Regions from separate parts of the Homo sapiens genome. Here region 2 is linked to region 1. Evidence: promoter capture Hi-C in 16 types of primary human blood cells and fetal thymus (Javierre and others, 2016). All regions are on one chromosome and are shown on one strand. Each heading gives the region's core, a stretch centred on a gene start or on the middle of the fragment in contact. The rest is flanking DNA. Distances are from core to core; before and after follow the strand shown.

Evidence for each region. Contacts are between HindIII fragments. The CHiCAGO score rates a contact against its expected background, and 5 or more counts as called.
Region 2: the fragment with the promoter of ISLR here is called in contact with the fragment with the promoter of CYP1A2 in region 1 in 4 of 17 cell types (M1 macrophages, fetal thymus, M2 macrophages and 1 more); the score reaches 6.8 in M1 macrophages.

The regions. Positions count from the first base shown.
Region 1 is chr15:74,744,535-74,751,198 of GRCh38, reverse strand. CYP1A2 (cytochrome P450 family 1 subfamily A member 2) reads right to left here and starts at 2,354. Exons shown (of 7, transcript NM_000761.5): 1 at 2,302-2,354; 2 at 630-1,469; 3 at 1-10. The coding sequence starts at 1,460. RefSeq lists promoters at 1,461-2,598, 4,330-4,878, 2,264-5,559, an enhancer at 4,452-4,710 and a cis regulatory region at 3,685-6,664. The HindIII fragment of the contact is 9,803 bases long and covers 344-6,664 here.
Region 2 is chr15:74,171,255-74,177,312 of GRCh38, reverse strand. It overlaps ISLR (immunoglobulin superfamily containing leucine rich repeat), which reads right to left and starts at 3,603. Exons shown (of 2, transcript NM_005545.4): 1 at 3,294-3,603; 2 at 442-2,462. The coding sequence starts at 2,454. The coding sequence ends at 1,168. RefSeq lists enhancers at 269-785, 1,893-2,881, 2,882-3,869, 3,870-4,858. The HindIII fragment of the contact is 10,197 bases long and covers 1-3,827 here.

The sequences.
Region 1 (6,664 bases), core at 1,105-3,604:
GGACACTGTTCTGAGGGGGCACAAGCTTAGGGGCACCTCTGGCACTTCCAAGGTCAAAGGCTGAACGTTGCTCCACTCCCCTGGCCTGTACCTGGTGGCTGGGTACCCCCCTATCCTCCCAACTTGGTCTCTAGGCAGGGGGTTGCAGCTTGCAGCAGGAGCTGGTAGCAGCCCTGGGTATGGCTTAAAGTGTCATTTTATGCCCCATTGACCCTTCCTCCCAATAACACCAGGGGTCCAATTTCAAAGAAGGAAAAGGTTAGTGTGAACACAGGGAAGCAACGTGACACCAGAGCTGGGGATTAGCCTCTGTTGGGGTTTAGGTTTCTGCAGAATGAAAGCTTTCTCACTCATAGGCCCCCCACATTGCAGGACTCTGCTAGGGCCCCATTTCCAGGGCTTTTTTCTTGGGGGCTTTGAGGAGCCCTGAGAAGGGGGCTTCAAGGATGAGGAAACTGAGGCCCAGAGAAGGGGAAGAGTCGGCTCCAGGTCACACAGCTGGTCTGAGGTGTCCAGAGCCTTCCTAGGCCTTGGCAACACAGCAGCTGTGTGGGCATGCTGGAGCTGGGAGGGAGGGGCTGCACCCAGGCCCTGCAAGGTGCCCCTTGCCACCTGCACCCCGGGCTCACCTTGTCAAAGTCCTGATAGTGCTCCTGGACTGTTTTCTGCAGGAACCACAGGAACCTCTGGTTGAAGGCCTTGAACCTCTGCAGGGCAGGGTTAGGCAGGTAGCGAAGGATGGGGAAGAAGTCCAGGGGGTTCCCGGAGGAGGCAGTCTCCACGAACTCATGAGTGTTCTTCACGAGGCTGAGCATCTCATCGCTACTCTCAGGGAAGTGCTGTCCGAAGCACATGGCACCAATGACGTTGGCCACTGACACCACCACCTGATTGTAAGGGTCGAAGTGCCCAGGCCCTGCCATCAGCTCCTGCAACCTGCTGATCAGGGCCTTAGCCTCCTTGCTCACATGCTCCTCCAGGTAGCAGGAGGATGAGGAAGCTGGGTCAGAGGCGATGGAGAAGGTGTTGAGGGCATTCTGGGCCAGGCGCCGGCGGGCAGCCCACACCGGTCCAGAGTCTGTGCTGAAGGTCAAGCTCTGGCCATCAGTGATGAGGGTGGAGGTGTAGAGGTCAGGCCGGCCCTTGAAATCGTCGCCCTGCCGCACCAGGGCCTGCCGGATGGTGTCCAGGCGGCTCAGCACCAGCACGGGCGTGGAGCCAATGCGGATCTGCAGGACGTCCCCGTAGCGCTGGCTCATCCTTGACAGTGCCAGGTGCGGGTTCTTCCCCAGGGTCAGCACATGCCCGAGCAAGGGCCAGCCCCATGGCTCTGGTGGACTTTTCAGGCCTTTGGGGACCCGAGGCCTCAAACCCTTGAGCACCCAGAATACCAGGCAGAAGATGGCAGAGGCCAGGAGAAGCTCTGTGGCCGAGAAGGGAACAGACTGGGACAATGCCATCTGTACCAACTGCAGGGAAAAAAGGAGGGACCAGGCTGAGGGTTGAGATGGAGACATTCATTCATTCATTTCCTCAGTCATTTGATAAACACTGATGCGTGTTCTGTGCTTGGCTCCCAGCTGGATACCAGAAAGACTAAGCTCCATCTACCATGCGTCCTGGGCCCACAGAGCTCACCCTTTGAGCATCACAGAATCTGAGAGCTGGAAAGGAGCCTCAAGATTCCCAACATGAACGCTGGCTCTCTCCTCCACACATCATCTCAGTTTCCACTTCTGGGGCTGGAGTAGAGGCAAGTGACCACTCCAAAATGGGGAAGCCAAGGACAGCACCCTTGTCAGCCCCTGGCACAGCATGCATGCTGGGTATTGTACCAAAGAGTCCCTGCCAGTGCTGGCTTTCTGCTGATACCTTCCATATACCCAAGGGACCAGGAGTTCCCCCTACCCAGTGACACTGAGGTGGCCAAGGTCCCAGGGCTGGTTCAAATAGCCTGTGATGCCCCCTCCCCAGGGCATTCTTTATCAATACCAGGAGGGGCACCTCCTCCAGGGATGAGTCCCCATCCTCTCACAGTCTTGGAGGTTGGGGTTGGGCTTCAGCCAGGGCCAGGGCTGCCCTTGTGCTAAGGGGGAAGCCCTCCCCATCGCTCTCCTTAAAAATGGCTTAGTCCAAACTGCTCATTTAAAATCGGGAAACAGAAGTCAAGAGCTGGGTAGCAAAGCCCGGAACTCAGGACCCCTACACCTAGCCCAGGCTCCCCGTCTTTCTGTCCCCACTAGCTTCCAGGTTCTATAGTTGGGGATCCCAGAGATTGTAAATTGGTCCCAAGAAAGGTACCTGTAGAGGCAGGTGCTTGAGATTGGCAGGGTTGTAATGGCTGGTGTGGAGCTTCTGGCTCTAGGTGAGTGGCCTTTTTATAAACACCGCCCCCTATCAGATTGGCCTGGTTGTCCTGATCACCTGATATGAAAGCTGGATCACTGAACAAAGTTGGAAGGATCAACTCTTGGCCTTGGGCCATTATCCCTCAGCTCCACCTACTACCTAAGACCCAGGGTGACTCTTTGGGGATAGGCCAGAAGGGGTGCTGGGTCCCTGGGGATGAAGGTACAGCTGTCTTTAGGGTTCAGGGTAGGGAGCCTATTTCTCTGAAGAGTAGGGTAGGGTCTGGGAGTGGGGGTTAGGCCTTTGGACTGATCTGGGCTTCTTTCCCACTGCACACATGAGGAAGAGCTCTGCCAGGGCACTCAGTCTAGGCCAACCAGGCTCACGGCCCCTCTCCAGAGGGATGTTCTTCTGTAGTACCCTCCAACAACCTGCAAAACCAAACAGTAAATGGGCGTGTTCCAGCCACTCCTGATTTTCAGCCCAAGTCCCCAAGTGGAAAAGAAGAGATGATAAAGATTTTGCATCCTAAAGAGAGGCCCCCCTTATGCAAAAAGACTAAGAGACATAACCAAATGCAATATGGATTTGCATTTGATTGCCATATCGATTGGATATGGCATTTAAACAAAATTTTAAAAAAATCTATAAAAGATGTTTTGGGGACAATTGGGGACATGTAAGCACGGACTGGAGATTAGATGATATTCTGGAATAAATGTAAATTTTTTTAGGTGTGAACAGAGTGTCATGGTATGTGGGAGTGTATCCTTATTCTTAGGAGATTAATGCTGTAGCATGGAAGTGTCATGATCCCCACAACCTCCTTTTGAATGGTTCTGTTAAAAAATGTACACCTCTAGGCCAGGCGCGATGGCTCGCACCTGTAATCCCAGCACTTTGAGAGGCCGAGATGGGCGGATCACCTGAGATCAGGTGTTCAAGACCAGCCTGGCCAACCTGGTGAAACTCCGTCTCTACTAAAAATACAAAAATTAGCCAGGCATGGTGGCATGTGCCTGTGATCCCAGCTACTCGGGAGGCTGAGGCAGGAGAATGGCTTGAACTTGGGAGGTGGAGGCTGCAGTGAGCCAAGATCGTGCCACTCCACTCCAGCCTGGGCGACAGAGTGAGACTCCGTCTCAAAAAAAAAAAAAATGTACACCTTTAAAGAGTGTAATTGGATTGTTTGTAACTCAAAGGTTTATCCTTGCTTGAGGGGATGGATACTCCATTCTCCATGAATGCTTATTTCATATTGCATGCCTGTATCAAAACATTTCATGTACCCCATACATATATACACCTACTATGTACCCATAAAATTAAAACAATGTATACCTATCTATCAATAAATCGAGAGAAAGTAGATATGAGAAATGTCAGATATTCATGGACTTACGTGAGGATATATGGTGTTTGTTGTACTAAAGGAGTCTTTAATATGGACCCAGATCTCAGTCAGATCTAAGAGGAGGAGGAGGACAAGCCTTAAATTGGATGTGAAAAGGAAGTTTGCTATCTTTTTTTTTTTTTTTTAGATACAGAGTCTTGCTCTGTCACCCAGGTTGGGGTTCATGTGCCACAATCATGGCTCACTGCAGCCTCGACCTCCTGAGCTCAAACAATCCTCTTGCCTCAGCCTCCTGAGTAGCTGGGACCACAATCACAGGTGTGTGCACCATGCCTGGCTAATTTTTTTATTTTTAAACATTTTTTTGTAGAGAGGAGGTCTTGCCATGTTGCCCAGGTTGGTCTTGAACTTCTGGGCCCAAGCAATCCTTCTGCCTTGGCCTCCCAAACTGCTGGGATTACAGGTGTGAGCCACTGTGCCCGGCATGGATGTGAGAGGGAAGTTTTGATTTAGACTGGAGTGGGCTTTTATTCCTGAAAATGAGAAAACTGTGGGATCAACCTGTGAAGATGCCAAGGCAGATGGATGGGGAATCCAATAGAGAAACAGAGCATGTTTGAAGGCCATGAATGGGAGAAGAGGAAAGTTGTTTCCTGTCTATATCTCCATTGGGTTCAGATGACTCAATGAAAAAGGTCAAGGTTTGAGGTTAGGCTCGGTTTTATAGAAAATGGACTCTTTCTTTCTCTCTGTCTGTCTGTCTCTCTAATTAACTAAAGTTCATGGTTTACTTAGATTTCCTTGCGTTTTACCTAATGTCCTTTTCCTGTTCCAGGACCCATTGGATATCACATGACATTTAGTCATCACGTCTCTTTGGATTCCTCTTGGCTGTGACAGTTTCTCAGGATATCCTTGTTTTTGATGACCTTGACAATTTTCAGGAGTACTGGTTGGACATTTTGTAGGATGCCCACTATTGGAATGTGCCTGATGTTTTTCTTCTCATGGTAAGCCTGGGGTTATGGTTTGTTGGTGGGAAGACCTTGGAGGTTAGGTGCCATTCTCGTCACATCATATCAGGGTTACATCCTATCAATGTGACTTACAGATGTGGATGTTGACCTTGATCACCTGGCTAAGGTAGTGCGTGTCAGGTCTCTTCACTGTAAAGTTACTCCTTTCCCACCTTTCCATACTGTACCTTTTGGAAGGAAGTCACTATGCACAGCCCACACCGAAGGAGTGGGGGATTACGCTCCTTCTCCTTGAGGGGGGATTATCTCCATAAACTATTTGAAATTCTCCTGTATGACAGACTATTTATCTTTTTATTTTTAATGTTTTCTTAAAACTTAAAAAAATTAAATTACAGGATACAATATAGAAAAGTGCATATGTCAGCTGGGACCGGTGACTCACACCTGTAATTCTAGCACTTTGGGAGGCCGAGGTGGGAGGATCACTTGAGTGAGGCCAGGAGTTCAAGACCAGCCTGGCCAACATAGTGAAACCTCATCTCTACTAAAAATACAAAAAAAAATTAGCTGGGCGTGATGGTGCACACCTGTAATTCCAGCTACTCGGGAAGCTGGGGCATGACAATTGCTTGAATCCGAGAGGCGGAGGTTGCGGTGAGCCAAGATCGCACCACTGCACTCCAGCCTGGGTGACAGAGCAAGATTCTGTCTCAAAAATAAATAAATAAATGGAAAAGTGCATATGTCATGTATAGCTCGATCATGTGTAGCTTGATGAATTTTTGCAAACTTAACAAACACACATATAACCAGCTCTAATCAAGAGACATCATAAGCATCCAAGAAGTCCCGTTGTGTTCCTTTCTCAAGGGTACCCATGACCCCAACATCTATTGCATGGATTTGTTTTGCTTGTTGTATTTTACATAAATGAGATCATGTCATATGTACACTTTTTGGAGGGGAGCCAAGGAATTTTAAAAAGCTAATAGATTTTTTTAGAGCAGTCTTTGGTTCACAGAAAAATTGAGTGGAAAGTATGATGAGGGAGGTAAAAGTGGCCATTTACCACCCCCACTCTGCAGTTTCCCCTATTATTAACATCTTGCAGTGGTGTAATATATTTGTTACAATTCGTGGATGAATATTGATACATTCTGGTTGTTGTTGTTGTTGTTTTGAGACAGAGTCTCAGGCCTGGTGTGGAGGCTCACATCTGTAATCTCAGCACTTTGGGAGGCTGATGTGGGCGGATCACTTGAGGTCAGGAGTTCTGGACCAGCCTGGCCAACATGATAAAACCCCATCTCTACTAAAAATACAAAAAAATTAGCCGACCATGGTGGCGCATGCCTGTAGTCCCAGCTACTCAGGAGGCTGAGGCAGGAGAATCCTTTGAACCCCAGAGGTGGAGGTTGCAGTGAGCCAAGATCGCGCCACTGCACTCCAGCCTGCGCCATAGAGCAAGACTCGTCTCAAAAAAAATAATAAAATAAAATAAAGAGAGACAAAGTTTTGTTCTGTTGCCCAGGCTGAAGTGCGGTGGTACAATCTCAGCTCACTGCAACCTCTTCCTCCCAGATTCAAGCGATTCTGGTGCCTCAGCCTCCTGAGTAGCTAGGATTACAGGCACACACCACCATGCTCGGCTAATTTTTGTATTTTTAGTATAGACGGGGTTTCACTGTGTTGGCCAGGTTGGTCTCAAACTCCTGACCTCAGGTGATCTGCCCACCTCGGCCTCCCAAAGTGTTGAGATTACAGGTGTGAGCCACCACGCCCAGCCTCTGATACATTATTATTAACCGACGACCATAGTTTAAATTAAGATGCACTTTGTGTTGTACAGTTCTATGGTCCCCCACCTACACTTTTTTGGTTGTGGTGAAATAATATACATAACATAACATTTAACACTATAGGGCCAGGCATGGTGGCTCACACCTGTAACCCTAGCACTTGGGAGGCTGAGGTGGGAGGA
Region 2 (6,058 bases), core at 2,354-4,853, 580 kb after region 1:
CTTCTCCTCATCTGTCTCCTCCATCTTGCCCCACCTGTCCCCTCTTTCCTCTTCATTCCTAACATCTCTTCCAGGAGCAGGACAGGGAAGAGGAGCTACCACCCAGGCACTTCCATTTCCTTGCGCCTTTCCAAAATGCCTCTCTTGAAGCCACTGCTGACATCAGGCGCTGCTCAGGGTCGCCAGCCACCCCAGGCTCCTGCCCCCAGCTGTCCTGTGGGATGGTTTGGAGGAAGGGAACATCTGCAGCTCAGCTCACCGCAAGGCCCAGCCCCTGACACAGCATCGGGCCAGCACTCCTGTGCCTCCACAGTCTGTTGGAGTCTCAGAGGCCCCTGCCACTGTGGGCAGGCAGGCTGGCTGCCCTGACTCTTCAGCTCCTGATCCTATCTCCCAGCAGAGGCTCCTAGATCCAGACAAAATTCCAGGCAGACACGGAGGGGCATCAGAAATGCTGTTTATTTCTCTGCTGCTCCCAAGCTGGCTGGCCTTTGCAGAGGAGCAGACAACAGATGCATAGTTGGGGAGAAAGGGAGGACAGGTTCCAGGATAGAGGTTGCAGGCTGAGGGAGGAAGGGTAAGAGGAAGGAAGGCCATCCTGGATCCCCACATTTCAGTCTCAGATGAGGACAAAGGGACTCCCAAGCCCCCAAATCATCAGAAAACAGCAAGGAGCAGGAGGAGCTTGAGCAGGCCCCAGGGAGCCTCAGAGCCATACCAGCCACTGTCTACTTCCCATCCTCCTCTCCCATTCCCTGTCTGCTTCAGACCACCTCCCAGCTAAGCCCCAGCTCCATTCCCCCAATCCTGGCCCTTGCCAGCTTGACAGTCACAGTGCCTGGAATTCCACCACTGAGGCTTCTCCCAGTTGGATTAGGACGTCGCCCCGTTAGCATGCTGCCCCTGAGAGGAGAGCACAGGCAATGCTGTTAGCAGCAATGAGCACCGCAGACAGTGAGTTAGGGGATCAAATTCTATCCTAGTCACTAGTTTGGAGCAGGTCTAGAAGTTGGGGATAGCAGGTGCTCTAGAAGAGATTAGAAGGAGAGGTAGGAAAATGTGAAGTCACCCATGCAGGCCTCAGGAGTTGCCAACCCCAGACCCCTGCAGCACTTAAAGGGGCATTGGTAGGGGCAAGGGGAGGAGTTAGGGAAGCCCTGGGTGGGGCTAGAAGGAGGTGAGGAAGAAGAAGAGGAGGAGGCTTTGGCCCAGCAGGAGCAGGCCTGGGGGCAGCTGCCCAGGGACCCCTTCTGCGACTGCAGCCTCAGGGTTCCCAGCACGGCTGAGGTAGATGATGACCACATTGTCCTCCGGCCCTGATGGCTGCACCTCGTTGTCAACCGTATAGCAGCCCTTTCCCTCAACCGCTTTGCCATGGAACCTGCGCCCCAGTGTGTCCTCACCACCCTCACCGGGCGTGGCCAGTGCCACGTCCACTGAGCTCTCAGCACTGCCCAGCTCATTGGTGGCCAGGCAGCTGTAGGTGCCTTCCTCCAGCTTGCCAAAGTCGGGGATAAGCAGGCTGCCATTGGCAAAGGCCTGGAAGCGCGGCTGGGAGCTGGCCACAGGGGTGCCAGGCAGGGCACGCCCATCAGTGCCCACGTTGGGGCTGGTGATCTCCACAATGCCACTGGGTATCTGGATGTGCCAGTGAAGCTGAGGGGCCGGCTGCCCGTCCACATCACAGTGCAGTGCCAGCACAAAACCAGGCCGCAGCTCGGCACCATCCTGGCTGGGTTGGTAGCTGAGCTGCACTGAGGGCGCCGAGCATGGCAGTGGCGGCAGGCGGCTCAGCGGCGTACCCTTGAGCACATGGGGTGAGGTGCAGGCGATGTTGTCCTGCTCCGGGATGGACACGGCCGTGGTCAGGGCCCATGTCTTGAGCCACACGATGCCGCAGGTGCAGTCGAAGGGGTTCTCGTTGATCTGCAGGTGGGACAGCGCGGTGAGCGGGGTGAAGGTGCCCTCGGCCAATGTGTGCAAGCGGTTGTGGTTGAGTTGCAGCGAGCGCAGAGCACGGAGGCTGCGGAAGGCGTCGCGGGGGATGAAGGTCAGCTCGTTGCTGTCCATCTTGAGCAATTGGAGGGCACTGAGGTTGTGCAGGTCGCTCCAGGCAAAGTCAGAGATGAGATTGTGGCTGAGGTCCAGGCTCTTGAGATGGCTCAGAGAGGCCAGGGCTCCGGCGGCCACCGTGCGGATCTCATTGTGTGCCAGCCACAGCGACTGCAGCAGGGGCACCTCCCTGAAGGCACCCTCCGGCAAGCCTGGCAGCCGGTTGGCTGACAGGCTCAGTGTAGTCACATTGGCCGGGAAGCCAGGCGGCACGGATTCTAGGTCGCGGTAGGCACAGTCGGCGATCTGGAAGCCATACTTTTCCCCACAGTCGCAGGGCTCAGGGCAGGCCTGAGCCAGGCCCAGGAGAAGCGCCCACCAGAGCAGATGCAGCTCCTGCATGGTGCCTCCTGCAGAGAAAGGCATGTCACCCAGGGGATCCCGAGAACCTGCCAAAGGGACTCATTCCTCCCACAAGCCCAGCCAGAGCTCTTTCCCATCAGGAGGCCCTGTCCCACATAACCCAGCTAAATCCCAACACCACCTAGCCCACCGCCCCCATCCTACGGAAGGAGAAACTGAGGCCAAGAGAAGGGCGGAGACTTGCCCGAGGTCACGCAGCCAGGCAGGATGAAGACGGGATGGAAGAGGACCCCAGCTCCTCCTCCGAGTGGAGAGTTCTCCCTGCCTCGGCCTGTTCCTAGCTGACTTTATGACTTGAAATCTGTTTTCCAGCCACCCCCCTCCCCCAGCACTTTGCAGAACCTCCCCCTGCCCTCCCACATCCTGGCCGCAGTCCCTCCCACCGGAGCCCCCCATAGGTATGCTTTGCCTTGGCCCAGACGAGGCCCCTTGTGCAGTGCACACCACCCCCATCCACTCCACCCGCCCTCTCCCGCTCCTCCGGCCATGACCGCAGCAGACACCAGGCCTTTTCTGTGGAATCACACCCGTGGCCTGTTCTGTTCAAACTTAGCCAGGCAGCTGCCTAAATAAACCCCCGCCAGGACCTCTCAGCTGACTTGGGTGAGGCCAGAGGCTCAGCCCAAACGCAGCTGGGATTTCTGGGGCCTCAGTTGTGGGTTGTGGAAGAAGCAGATGCCCCCTGGACGGCTCCAAGCTAGGGATTGTCCCACGCACCTCAGACCAGCAGGGATGGACCAAGAGGGAACCAGCCCCTATGTCCAACAGGCCTCCCGCTCCCGCCGCTGGCCCTGGAGCCCTCCTCCCCACTGGCTTACCTTCAAGCTACTCTTAGTCAAGCGGAGCCTCTTCTAAGGTGGAACCAAAAAGCAACAGAGGACCTTAGCCCTGAGAGTCTGCAGGGCCACGGGCGCCCAAGGGAGGACTTGGATGCTGGGGCGAGGGGCAGCCTGGTCCCACCCCACCTTCGATGTGCAGGCCTGTGCCCTCCCTGCCCCAGACAGGGTGCCTGGAACCATCCACTGAGAGGAGGCGGCAGGGAGGAGCCCGGGGCAGCCCGCGCACTCCCTCCTTCCAGCAAAACAACTGCTTCTCTGCAGCAACAAGGACCTGTGTTTCATAAGTGACACCAGAAACTTGAGGGGGGAAGAGATGCCAAATTTTTTTGGGTTGTGTTTTTTCTCTCTCTCTCACTCACTTTTAGCAGCTTCAACTTCCTTAAAGACACAGCACTGTCTGGAAAGGACCCAAGAAATGATGGGGCCAGGAGGATTTTAGCGGGGGAAGGGCGAGAAATTGAATCTCATGGAAGGTGGGAGATTTCCACTTCAAACAAGAAAAAACGGGAAGCTTTTGTCCAAGCCAGGGTTGTATGTGTGTTGGTGTGTATACGTGTGTGTGTGTGTACAAGTTTGTGGGTGTGAGGGTGCGTATTTCTGGATTTGTATGTGTGTTTGCATGGATGTGGGTATGAAACCATGTACATGAGTTTGTGTGTGAGTGTGTGTGTGTGTCTGTCTTGGTGTGGGTTTGTGTGTGGAAGTGAGTGTGCATCCATGTGTGTGTGTTTCAGTGAAAAGCCAAGAAGGCCAAAGTGTACAAAGCAGATACCAACCCTTCGGTGAAAGCCAAGATGTTAGGCATTTTTTTTTTTTTTAAGAAAACATATCCTGCTGGCTCTGAGACTGAGCTGCGCTAAATGCATGTTGTTGTCCAGGGAGCTCCCAAGACTCCAGGCCCCGCCCCTCACTGCGCTCCCCACTGGCTGGGGAGGAAACAGGGAGGCCTGGCTCAGAAAACTCAGGGCGGGAGCCTGTTGACCTTCAGTGCTCCTGGCTGGGATTCTGAGCCACCCAGGCCCACTGCCCACTGGGCACCCAGAGGGGAGGCCAAGGGGCCGCACTCCCGGAGAGTTCTCTCTGTGTCCCCCACAGGGCCCAAAATCCCACTGTTGGTGCTGGACATCTACGCGGTCAGCATCGGCCTCTCTGAGCTCCACTGTTCCAACACCAACTGTGTGGAAGGGGCAGACGCCTCCAGGGTGAGGATATGTGACCCCTTTTCCAAACGGGAAGGCCCAGGGGAGGGGAATGGGGAAACAAAAGAGGCCCAAAACGAGGGAGCTGGAAGAGAAACCGAAAGATGAAGGAGCCCAGAAAAGAACTTTGTAGACTGAAGAATTTTGCTCTCCACAGACAAGCCTACCGTATCCCCTCAGTAGCCCTCCCCAAGCTTCCTTGGCCTTCCATCTGATAACTGGTTGAATTCTGCTCATGACTCAACTTACCCTCTCAGCAGGGCCAAGGGCAGACAGGGCTCATCTTTGGCTGAAAGCATCCCCAGGAAGCCTGCCCCAGCTCATCACACCCCATTCCCTGTCACCAAGCAAGGCCACAGAAGTCCCCAGCATGCTGCCTGCAAAACACCCGAGTCTGATGCTGAGGATATTATTATGGTCCAATGGAGAGCACCCTCTCTTTCCCCTGCAGAGGAAGCCCTCTCTTGCATCATCCTGACTGTGCTGGAGAATTTCTAGGAAAGTCCTGAATTTGGTGGGCCAACCAGAGGCTGCAAGAAACACATCCAGGGTTCAGTAAACCAGAGGGGAGACTCAGTGACCTCAGTGTCAGTCAGGGAGGGCTTCCTGGTGGAGGGGGCTTCACTATGTTCTGCACAGCCCATACACACACCCTCACCTGCACAAAGTCTGTGCCACCAGCTTTACCTCCAGGGTGCTCTGAGGAGCTCATAGTTCCCACCCCACCTCCCTCCTTGCAAGCACATCAGGGTCAGAGTACAAGCACCTCCTCAGCCCTCAGTTCCCAGTGACTGTTCTCTCAGACATTCCTGACTTTTCTTCATAGCTCCTCCTATAAGCTGTGATTATTTATTCATGCGTGCTTAATGTGCGACCCCTTACTAGAGAGGAAGCCCACTGAGGGCAGAGGCCTTAACTTCCCAGGTGCTATTGATCTCCAGCACAGGGAAGACACTCTGTAAGCGCCCCCTTCATGGCATGATGGACAAGTTGGGTGGTCATCAGAAGGAAGCATTTTAGAGCTCACCCACTTCATCTCCTCATCAACTTACAGATAGGGCCTTTGGGCCCAGGCTAGGGAAGGGGCATGCCCAAGACATTTTAGAGAATATTTCATACAGTGTAGGAGACCCATGCTCTGTTGGGTGGGTGAGTATGTCAGCAGCCTTCTGGGGGCAGGGAGTCTGTCCCCTCATTCCCTACCTAAGACCTTAATGACAGCCAAACACTAAGCTCAGACTCCCACCTCAAAACAGATGTGGGGGGCTGAGGGCGGGAAAAGTGGGAGGGACCAGCCCACCTGGGCAGAAATGAGACTGTGCGTGCTGGTCACTGATGTATCTTCCTGGTCTGCTCAGGTCCTGCCACTGCCTGCAAGGTGTGGCCATACCCGCTTCCACCAGGAAGGACAATAAGGCCGCCAGGATCTCAGCCAAGGACTATTGACTCTCCAAGGTGTCTCACAGTGGGACAGGTGGGCCTGCTCCTCAGCAGAGCCCAGGAGCAGTTGTGCAGGCCTCTGAGGATGGGGCGTATGACCTCCTG